3 separate regions of the Homo sapiens genome follow, and all the other regions are linked to region 2. Evidence: promoter capture Hi-C in human tissues and cell types (Jung and others, 2019). All regions are on one chromosome and are shown on one strand. The core of a region is centred on a gene start or on the middle of the fragment in contact, and the rest is flanking DNA. Distances in the headings are between cores, read along the strand shown. Region 1 has its middle 58 kb from the start of SLC1A3. Region 2 holds the start of SLC1A3 (solute carrier family 1 member 3). Region 3 overlaps SLC1A3 (solute carrier family 1 member 3).

What was found. Contacts are between HindIII fragments. The study calls those that stand out against the background at their distance.
Region 1: a contact is called between a fragment that was not itself captured here and the fragment with the promoter of SLC1A3 in region 2, in 1 of the 25 tissues and cell types used here (aorta).
Region 3: a fragment that was not itself captured here is called in contact with the fragment with the promoter of SLC1A3 in region 2 in 1 of the 25 tissues and cell types used here (hippocampus).

Annotation. Positions count from the first base shown.
Region 1 is chr5:36,546,957-36,550,091 of GRCh38, forward strand. No RefSeq gene overlaps it. Among named protein-coding and RNA genes, the nearest start is that of SLC1A3, 58 kb to the right of the region's middle. The HindIII fragment of the contact is 4,082 bases long and covers 1-3,135 here.
Region 2 is chr5:36,605,240-36,608,260 of GRCh38, forward strand. SLC1A3 (solute carrier family 1 member 3) reads left to right here and starts at 1,367. Exons shown (of 10, transcript NM_004172.5): 1 at 1,367-1,496. RefSeq lists an enhancer at 1,474-1,573. The HindIII fragment of the contact is 11,728 bases long and covers 1-3,021 here.
Region 3 is chr5:36,654,758-36,658,209 of GRCh38, forward strand. All of the region lies in intron 3 of SLC1A3 (solute carrier family 1 member 3), which reads left to right. Among named protein-coding and RNA genes, the nearest start is that of SLC1A3, 50 kb to the left of the region's middle. The HindIII fragment of the contact is 6,004 bases long and covers 1-3,452 here.

The DNA.
Region 1 (3,135 bases), core at 501-3,000, 58 kb before region 2:
CGTTAAGTGAAGGCAATATGCGGTGAGATAGTAGAAGCATCAGCTATAAATAAGAAATGTCATAAGCCTATGCTATAATAGAGAAAATAAAAGTTTGGACAAAGCTTCCCAAGCATAGGCAAGGTTAAAAGAAATTAAATAGAATCTATGAATAGAAACAAGAAGAAGAAGATAAAGGAATGTAGCATGCAAAAGACAAACGAAAGACTAAAATTGGAATAGGGCTCAAGAAACAGGAGAATATTATTTTACAATGTCTCTATAGAATAACTTTATTAAGAATATTAATTTGACCAGGAACAGTGGCTCACACCTGTAATCCCAGCACTTTGGGAGGCTAAGGCAGGCGGATCACAAGGTCAAGAGATCCAGACCATCCTGGCCAACACGGTGAAACCCCATCTCTACTAAAAATACAAAAATTAGCTGGGCGTGGTGGCACATGCCTGTAGTCCCAGCTACTCGGGAGGCTGAGGCAGGAGAATCACTTGAACCCGGGAGGCAGAGGTTGCAGTGAGCCGAGACTGCGCCACTGCACTCCAGCCTGGCCACAGAGTGAAACTTTGTCTCAAAAAAAAAAATTAATTCAATATAAAAAGAATGCAAAGGCAAGAACATATAACAACATGGAGATGGGAAAGGAGATGGAGAATGAAAAAAAGCATATTGAGAATACCAAAAACCTCTCACCATTATATATCCCATAAGTAACCTAGATACGGCAAGGAATAAAACAGATAAGGCTAAATATTAAATCAATGATGTGGAGGAATATCTTAAGATAAAAAGAGTGAATACATAATAAAAATAAAAGAAATGAAATGAATGAAGGTAAAATAATAGAGAACAAAGACAGTTCAACTTAAATGTAGGTGGTGTCCTTGAAGTAAAAAATAAAATGGATTTAGAGGGGGAAAATGTATTTAGAGATATAAAATTACCCTGAAATGAATAAAGAACAGAATCTAAAAACTTGAAAGAGCACACTAAGTATCAAGTAAAAATGATATAATGTACTAAATACCACGACGTAGTCTGATTAAACTGTTAAACTTTAGAAATAAAGGAATCTGTATGTGTACTATATTTCATAATAAAATATATAAATTTAAAAATAAAGGAAGAAATCCAGGCAGAAATTTAAAAGTCATAAATAGGGTAAAAATGCAGGATGACTTATCCACAGAAAATTTAATTCCAGAAGACATTGGAATAACATATACCAGATTCTGAGAAAAAGAAAAGATCTACCCATACATGTTGTCTGGTATAAAAACCACAGGTAAACATTTTTAAACAAAAATCATACTTTCTTAAAACACATTTTGAAAAAACTATTTAACGATGAAATCCAGTCACACAAGCAAGGAATCAAAACAAAAGAGTGTAGGAATCTAAAATGGTAAAATCAATGTAAAAGACTGAATCTATTGAAAGTAGCTCTAAGCAGCCAGAGAAATAATTTCATCTCAAGCAAAACATAAGTATAGACTGAACAATCAAACAAAAAAACCAGTAAGGGTATAATGGGGCTGAAAAACACTATAAATCAATCTGACATAACTAATATTTATAGAACACTATATCCAACAACTACAGAATACACACTCTTTTCAGTGCATATGGAATGTTTATGAAGACCACACACTAGGGTATAAAATAAATCTCAAGAAAATGAAATGTATTGAAATTATAGAGTAATATAATTTTGTTGCATATGTGACCACAAGGCAATAATTAGAAACCAACAACAGGAAAATATCTAAAAATATGCAAATGTTTGGAACTAACAATATACTTCTAAATAACCCATAGGTAAAAGAATATGTCACAATAGAAATTAGAAAATATTTTGAACTCAATGAAAATGAAAGAACAACAAAGCAAATTTTGTGAGATGAAGCTAAAACAGCGTATAGGAAGAAATTTATGGAATTTTAATTGTTTAAACAATCATAAAAGAAGCTCTAAAGTCAATGAACAAAGCTTTGACTTGAAGCTAAGAAAAAGAAGAGCAAATTAAACCCAAAGTAGAAGAAAGAAAATATTAAAGTTAGGAGCTAAAGTCAGTAAAGTTGAAAACAGAAAAACTGTACATAAAAATCAATTAAAAACAAAACCTGTTTATTTGAAAAAGTAAAATTGATAACCTTCTAGCTAGAGATATTACATCCATTAAAAAGATAATAAAGGGCCAGAAGCGGTGCCTCATGCCTATAATCCCAGCAGTTTGGGAAGCCAAGATGGGAGGATCACTTGAGCCCAGGAGTTTGAGACCAACGTGAGCAACCTAGTGAGACGCCATCTCTACAAAAAATTTAAAAATTACCCAGTTGTGGAGGTGCATGCCTGTAGTCCCAGCTATTTGGCAGGCTGAGGTGGGAGAATCACTTGAGCCTGGGAGGTTAAGGCTGCCGTGAGCCTCACATCACTACACTGCAACCTGAGTGACAGAGCAAGACACTGTCTTAAAAAAAAGTGACAATAAAGGCATATTACAAACAATTTGATCCCATAAATTTGACAAAAGAGATGAGATTTTTAAAAATTCTTTGAAAAAAACAAACTACTAAAACCTAGTCAAGAAAAAGTAAAAATCAAATAATCCTCTATTAAAAATTAAATTTATAATTTAAAAGCTTCCTACAAAGAAAATTTCAGGCCCAGCTGGTTTCATAGACAAATTCTATCAAACACTTAAGGAAAAAATAATATCAATTCTACACAAAGTCTTTCAAATAAATTAAAGAAGTGGAAATATTTCTTACTCAACTCATTCCATAATGCTAGGATTTCTTGGATACCAAAATTAGACAGACATTATAAGGGGGAAAAAGCCTACATATCAATGTTTCACACTAATATATACTCAAAAACCCTGAATAAAAGTTTAGCAAAATAATACAACAATATATAATAAGGAGAATATATGATAACCAAATGATTTTCATCTCAGGAATGCAAGGTTTGCTTAACATTATTATAATATTGTCAATCAATGTGATATTGCTTAGAACAAAGGAAAAACTATTGATTCTAATAAATGCAGGAAAAGCATTTAATAAAAATCCAACATCCATTTATTATAAAAATTTTCAGGAATCTAGGAAACAATGGAAGTGTTTTCATCTAATA
Region 2 (3,021 bases), core at 117-2,616:
ACATGGTATAATTAAGTGCTAAACAATGTAGTATAGATGCTCAGTGACCTAGGAGATCAGAGGAAGGGAAGGGTCACTGAGGGCTGGGAATGTCAAAAGCATGTACTTTCAGTAAGTTCTTAAAATGATAGCATGTTAGAAAGCTGTTATAATTGCTGCTGATTTGTAATTTTAAAGCATTGACATGATTCACCATTGCTTTCCAACCAGTAGCTGTTTAAAAGGACATACAGTTGAGGGTGAAAGGAGATATTTCTTTATGATCTCCAGAGATTTGTATTGAGGGGAAAAAAGACATACTTTCTTGTTGAATAATAGACCAAGAATTGAGCATATTTTGCATGGGGAATATTAAATTCAGTGAACAAGAATCCAAACCTCAGGCTGTGATTCTGGTATAAATTTTTGTTTCTAATGAACCATTTTCTTCCTTCTAAAGAAGATTTAAGTTTTGGGAATAAGTCACCTCAAAAAAATTTTTTTTTATTTTCTAATATCTATTTTCACAATTTATTTTTCTTTTAAGAAAAGTGGACTAGAAGCTCAAGTTACCTTCTCAAGGCAATGAGAATTTTTTAGCTCTAAAAAAGTTGTGTGTGGTAGGGAGAACATTTAGCATCCTTTAAAATGGAGACATCTGAACAGCAACCTATCTTTTGAATCACCAAATCTCAAGTGTACTTTGCACTCTTGGTCTTAAAATGCTTTTCATTTTCTAGTTTGGCAAAAATTCCAGTCTCTTTACATTTGCTACCTTTTCCGTCTTTGCAACACAGGCAGTGTGAGCTAAATTAGGTTTGTTAAAATGAAGTTTTGAAGTTTCAACTGCTGAAATAGAGGCATGTCCCTAACTTTAGACAAATTTAGAGAATCGTAGTAAGCATTATTTTTTTTCTACATACTTGTCTGCATTCAGTGTCTTCCCAAGAAACGTCAGTTAATTCCCCGATTCGAAAAAGGAACTTTCTCGTAACAGTTGTACAACCAGGCTAAAGAGCACACCCTCGTCTTCCCTGAAAGGGAGGAAACATGCAATAATGTGAGGTAATTAAATTTAGCCTTAGAAAAGTCTTTGAAACGTTCTAATCAAGACTTTCAGCTTTCCGATTGTGTGCGCTTTATTTTTCAATTCTTCCTAGTCCCGGTTTTGCATTTCTAATGACAGTGAACTGACAAAGCGTGAAAGTGGTCTAAGGAGCAAAACAAAGCCAGCAAGCCTGCTTCTGGTGTGCCAAGATTAATCAATATTCCAGAAACCTCGGGGTTTCCCCCTCCTCCCTGTGCGGTTTCCATTCCCCACTCCTCCTTTCCCGGGCACAGACTCCTCCCCTTTTCTTAAGTTGCCCTGATAGTAACTTGCAGTTTCAGAGCACATGCACACTGTCAGGGCTAGCCTGCCTGCTTACGCGCGCTGCGGATTGTTGCTCCGTTGTACCTGCTGGGGAATTCACCTCGTTACTGCTTGATATCTTCCACCCCTTACAAAATCAGAAAAGGTAAGTGTCACATTCTGTGTTCCTGCTGGGTTTAATTTCTCCTTTCACTTCTCTGCCGATGTATTTTGCCTTCCAAGCAGAGGAGTAGCCTGAATCAAGGCTAGCCATTTTGGTAGATAAAGTCCTTGTTAGTCATCTCACGTCGTGAGAGTGTGGTGTCTGTTTATGCCGGGTCCGCTGTTAATTCGGAGTTGAGTCATTCGGGGTGGATTGGGGGCAGATTGTGGCGCGAGATCTAGAAAAGGATCAAGGTTGAGCGGATCTGCTTAAAAGTGACTGGTAAGAGGAATCAGAGCTATTAGTTTAAAAAAAAAAAAAATCTGGTCTCTCCTATTTCCCGGTCTTCACTTCTCCCTAAGCATTTAATCCAGTGTGAAGTCTTAAACAAATTAGAAGTCTTAGTATCACTGACCCCAACTTGCAATTTTATTTAAAAGGCAAACTGTTAAGACAAGTCTTTTTTTTTCCTGCACTGGGATTGCGAGAAGTCATTTGCGAGGAGTCCTTTGGTTTCCAGTTACCTCCCCCACAGGCGCACACGCTGGCTGCTTGCGTTGGCAGCGACACACATCCATGGTACGGCTGGTTTTCACTCGGATTGATTATGGGAAGGGCTATGGATTAGAGCTCCTGTAAAGCACCAGGAGGAATCCCTTGATTTTTCAGAACAGCTGATTTCCACCAGGAAAGAGATTTACTGAAATGTAGTTAAATAGCGTGAGTGCTTTAAAGAAACCAGAAACCACAAGCTGTAATGTTTGGAATGAAAATTGGTTTCATCTCATCTGTTCTAGAAATCCTAAATTTTAAAACGCTAAAAAGTCAGCGATAGTTTCCTCGGAAGATTCCAGCATGTGTGTCACAAAGAAAAACACTACTTCATACTTCTACTTGTGATAAACGAAGCTGAATTGTGATTTCAGATGATTTATAGATGTGCCCAGAGCACTTTGCTTATTTCATGGAAAAAAAATGAAAAAATTACCCTGTAAAATAGTCACATGTATTTCCCATGTACTGTGGGCACTTGTGTTCTTTTTATGACCATATTTACTAGTAGATATTATTATATTTTTTTCTTAATGAAGAAAATAGCTGGTTACTTTACTGCATGTAACAGAGACAACTCCCACCTATCAGTATCTTAATTATTTTTATTGACCTGGTTATGCTTTCAACCATGTATACAGCATAATTTGTCAAGTAATGATTGAATACTTTCTGTGCATTCAGTTCAATTGGACATTTACTGATTGTGTACGTTGTGCAAGGCATCAGCTGGGTTCTGCGGGGGAGGGTGGGAATAGGGGTTCTCAGTCAGATCTAGCTCTGAAGAACCCTTTTATAGCCTCATTGGAAGGGGAAGGACGGATTTTTAAAAAGAAAATAGAATATATTCCGAATTTATGCACATTTCTCACACGTGGTCCACTAAAATATGCACACTGCAACCTTGAGGTCTGGTATTGTGGCTCTCCAGTCCTTGATTCCTGCTGAGATTATGCAATTTGCCAAGAGCTTGCCT
Region 3 (3,452 bases), core at 247-2,746, 50 kb after region 2:
ATTGAGGCCCTCCAGTTAGCTGTGCTAGGTGCCTAAGAAGGAAGTCACAGCACTGTTAACCATAGACTCCAGGTCCTACATCTCCTTCCTCTGCAGAGTGAGGAGATGTTTGCATCTGAAAAGGTAAACAGGGGCCAGCTGAGTGGTGCAGGGGACATTCGCTCTGGCTGCATTTATTTGTAGTAATTCCTGTTTGGTTCTTAAGAACACAAACTTCTGGAGCTACCAGTTGCAGCATTGACTAGCTGTGGGAGAAGTCACTTTGGCATTCAGGGCTTGTTTATGGAGTGGAAATAATAGTAGTGACAGTAATAAACATGTTTGTTGTATGTGCCTCCTGGGGGACCTGGAGGTGAGCTCACGGGGAATCATGGCTGTGAGTGTGGTCTATGTGAATCTATAGGCATTGGCTAATGTCAGTGACTACTACACTCTGAGATTCTGCTTTAATATTATAAACACCAACTTCAAAAGCCCTTTTGGCTTCTTTGCCGGAGAGTATCAGGTGTAAGGTCTCTCTTTGCACTTGCATCTAGTGTCTGCCTAGAGAGGATCATTTCCTCAGCCTCGGCTTGGTCAAATGATGGCATTCTCACTGGCTGTGCCCTGGCTTTGTCACTAATTGTTAGGCAGTTTCAGAGATCGTGTTGCATGTTACTTCACCCCGTTTCTGCTGACTGGCTGCCTCCTGAGTGCTGCTTACTGCAGTTCATAGATGTTTCTGAAAACTGCTTATGGGTGACCCTGAGTAAACAATTAAAAGTCACTGTATTTTCTATGTTAGAATTAAAAAATCTACCTTGCCAAGAAAGCTTGTGACCTTGTAAAGATTGGGAAAACTCCACTTGTCATAAACTTAACCAGTTTCCAACTCATGCACTAAAGCAAAGCTTTAAGCCACTTTGCCTTATCAAAAGGCCATGAAACTTTCATTCTGTCCTAGCCTCACCACTAACTAGTGGTGTCATTTTATACATCATCAAGCCTTTTGGGTTCCTTGACCTCACTCACCAGACCTGGAGGGCCCCGGCCAGTTTTAGGCATTTAATTTTGACTTTTTGATGACAGAATGGTTTCCAAGGGTGTTTGAGATTCCCTGTGGAATTATGTTCACTACAATCAAGTTTCCATTGCATTAAGATGAGTGCAAGTTAGAGGAAACACATCACAGGGTTTACTTAGCCTGGAACAGAGCTGGACGCATGATTGCTCCTCAGTAATCAGATAAATAAGATGTGATTTACATCAGAAGCTGTAAATGACTGAGAACATTGGTGTTGCAGTAAAGATTATACTTATTCTACCTTAAAGTACTAAAATCCTAATCTTGATTAAAGGTTAATTCTATAATTGGTCAGTGACTTTTTAATTTTACCTGCCATAATAATTGCTAGCAACTACTGGGTAAAAAAAATATGCTGGTTATTAAACATATGTACTTGTTATTCCTTCTGAAAGGTCATTGTTATTATTCCCATTTTATAGATCAAGAAACTAGGTCTCAGAGAGGTTGCATAATGTCTCAGGGTCTCCCTGCTAGCAAGGGGCTGAGCTTGAATTCAAACTCAAATCTACGTGTCACTAAAGCCCCCTCTCTCTAGAGCCATGTAACCCCTGATGTGGTATGTGGCCTCTAGATTAGTACTGGATCAGTTTATAATTTTAAAGTGCATTTGTTCCCTTAAGTCTTTTCTCCACATGAGCTAAATATTTTTCATAATTTTTCTGTACTCGTGTACTTAGCCCTTTACATCATGTGTGGTTGAACATTCTATTATTTGGTGAGACTATGACTGTCTAATTGGTCAGTGAGAATCTGACTTGTCTAGCAACAAAAGAACTCCTTGAGAAGAGGAGCTACTATTTGTACATTTGCATTGCAGCCCTGGTTGCAGTGATGAACTCTTGCTATAGTATGTTACAAAATTATGTCATTGATTTGTAGATTGAGTATAGTTGCTTAATTATTCTCACCTGCTGAATTTGCAGAATTTGTCATTCATCATTCATTCAACAAAGCTATACTGAGTTCCTGCAGTGTTAGTCACTGGGCATATAGTAATCAATGTAAACCATCGTGTATTACTATACTTCAAGGGCTGTGACCTGGAAAATCACTGATATGTTATTCCAGAATGAATAAAAGTGAAGTTGAACTTAAGGCATATACTTTAAAAGAATGGACTTTTTAATAATCATTGTAGCACAACCAGAAATTTTTGCTAATGAATTATCCAATTAACTTTTCTGAAGCCTAAAATAATTATGCTGTTATTTCTTTTGCATATGAATAACTTCTGTTTGTATTGATCCTTGATGCATTTACATCTCTGCCCAAATGATATGACATTCCTATCTAGAGGGGAAGGATATTTATTAGCTTATACTTCTCTAGATTGATACTACTGATTCTTTTAGGAAAACAGTAATTCCTGAAGTTACAAAGTCAGGCTAACAGTATTCCCACAAAACATCTTGTAATAGCTTCATGTGCTATAGGGAATTTTTTTGTTTAAAAAGTGCTCCCTTTCTATAATCACTTTTTGGTTGTGGAATTCCTGAAACAATTTGTTTTGGTTATTCTGAAAAATTCTGAATCTTCCCTAATACCTTTAGTAATAAAATAGGACCTGATAAAAATCACGAAGTGTCTTTGAATCTGGCTGAATATCTAGACTTAATGAGTGTTTAAGGCTCCATGTCAACCTGCAAAGATACCTGGTGAAGCACCCTTATGTACTTTTCTAAAAAAACCCTGCCCTGTTCCATACTTTAATCAACGACTCAACAACATAGAAGTCATCTACATAGTGTTTTCATACGACATAAGCCCAAAAAGGATGGCTTCCACTGCATATGCCTGTGATCATGATTCATAATGATTTCAATAGGCTGCAATGCTGGATGGAAACCAACATGATGAAGTTGAGCAAGGAATAAGTGTACATTTCTGCTTTTAGATTCAAAAGGCAATTGCGCAATTACAGGATGGGGAACAACTGAGCTTGGCAGCAGTTCATGTGACTAAAGGCTTAATGTGAACCAACAGTAGGAAGTGGTGGCTAAAAAAGAATGAATGTAGCCGTGTGCTTCCTCAGTAGAAATATTAATAGTCACTGTACTCTGCGCTGACCGCACTGCATTGGGAATAATTTGTTTGGTTCTGAGCACATTCAGGAGAGGCTTTGACAAAGCAGAGTAGCTACTAAGAGGGTGTTGAATCCAATCCAAGACACATTTATTAGACTCCTGTTTTGGGCAGGCAATGTGCTAACCAGGGCAGGCAATAAAGACACAAAGAGACTTTGCCAGTCTCTAGGCTCAAGGAGTTGAAAATTTAAATAGAGAGTCAGACAGGTACACGCATGACTATAAAACAAAGCGCCCCACGAAACCAAGAAGCACAAAGAAAGGGTTGTGGGAATTCAGGGGCTGGGCTAGTGGTCAGATTT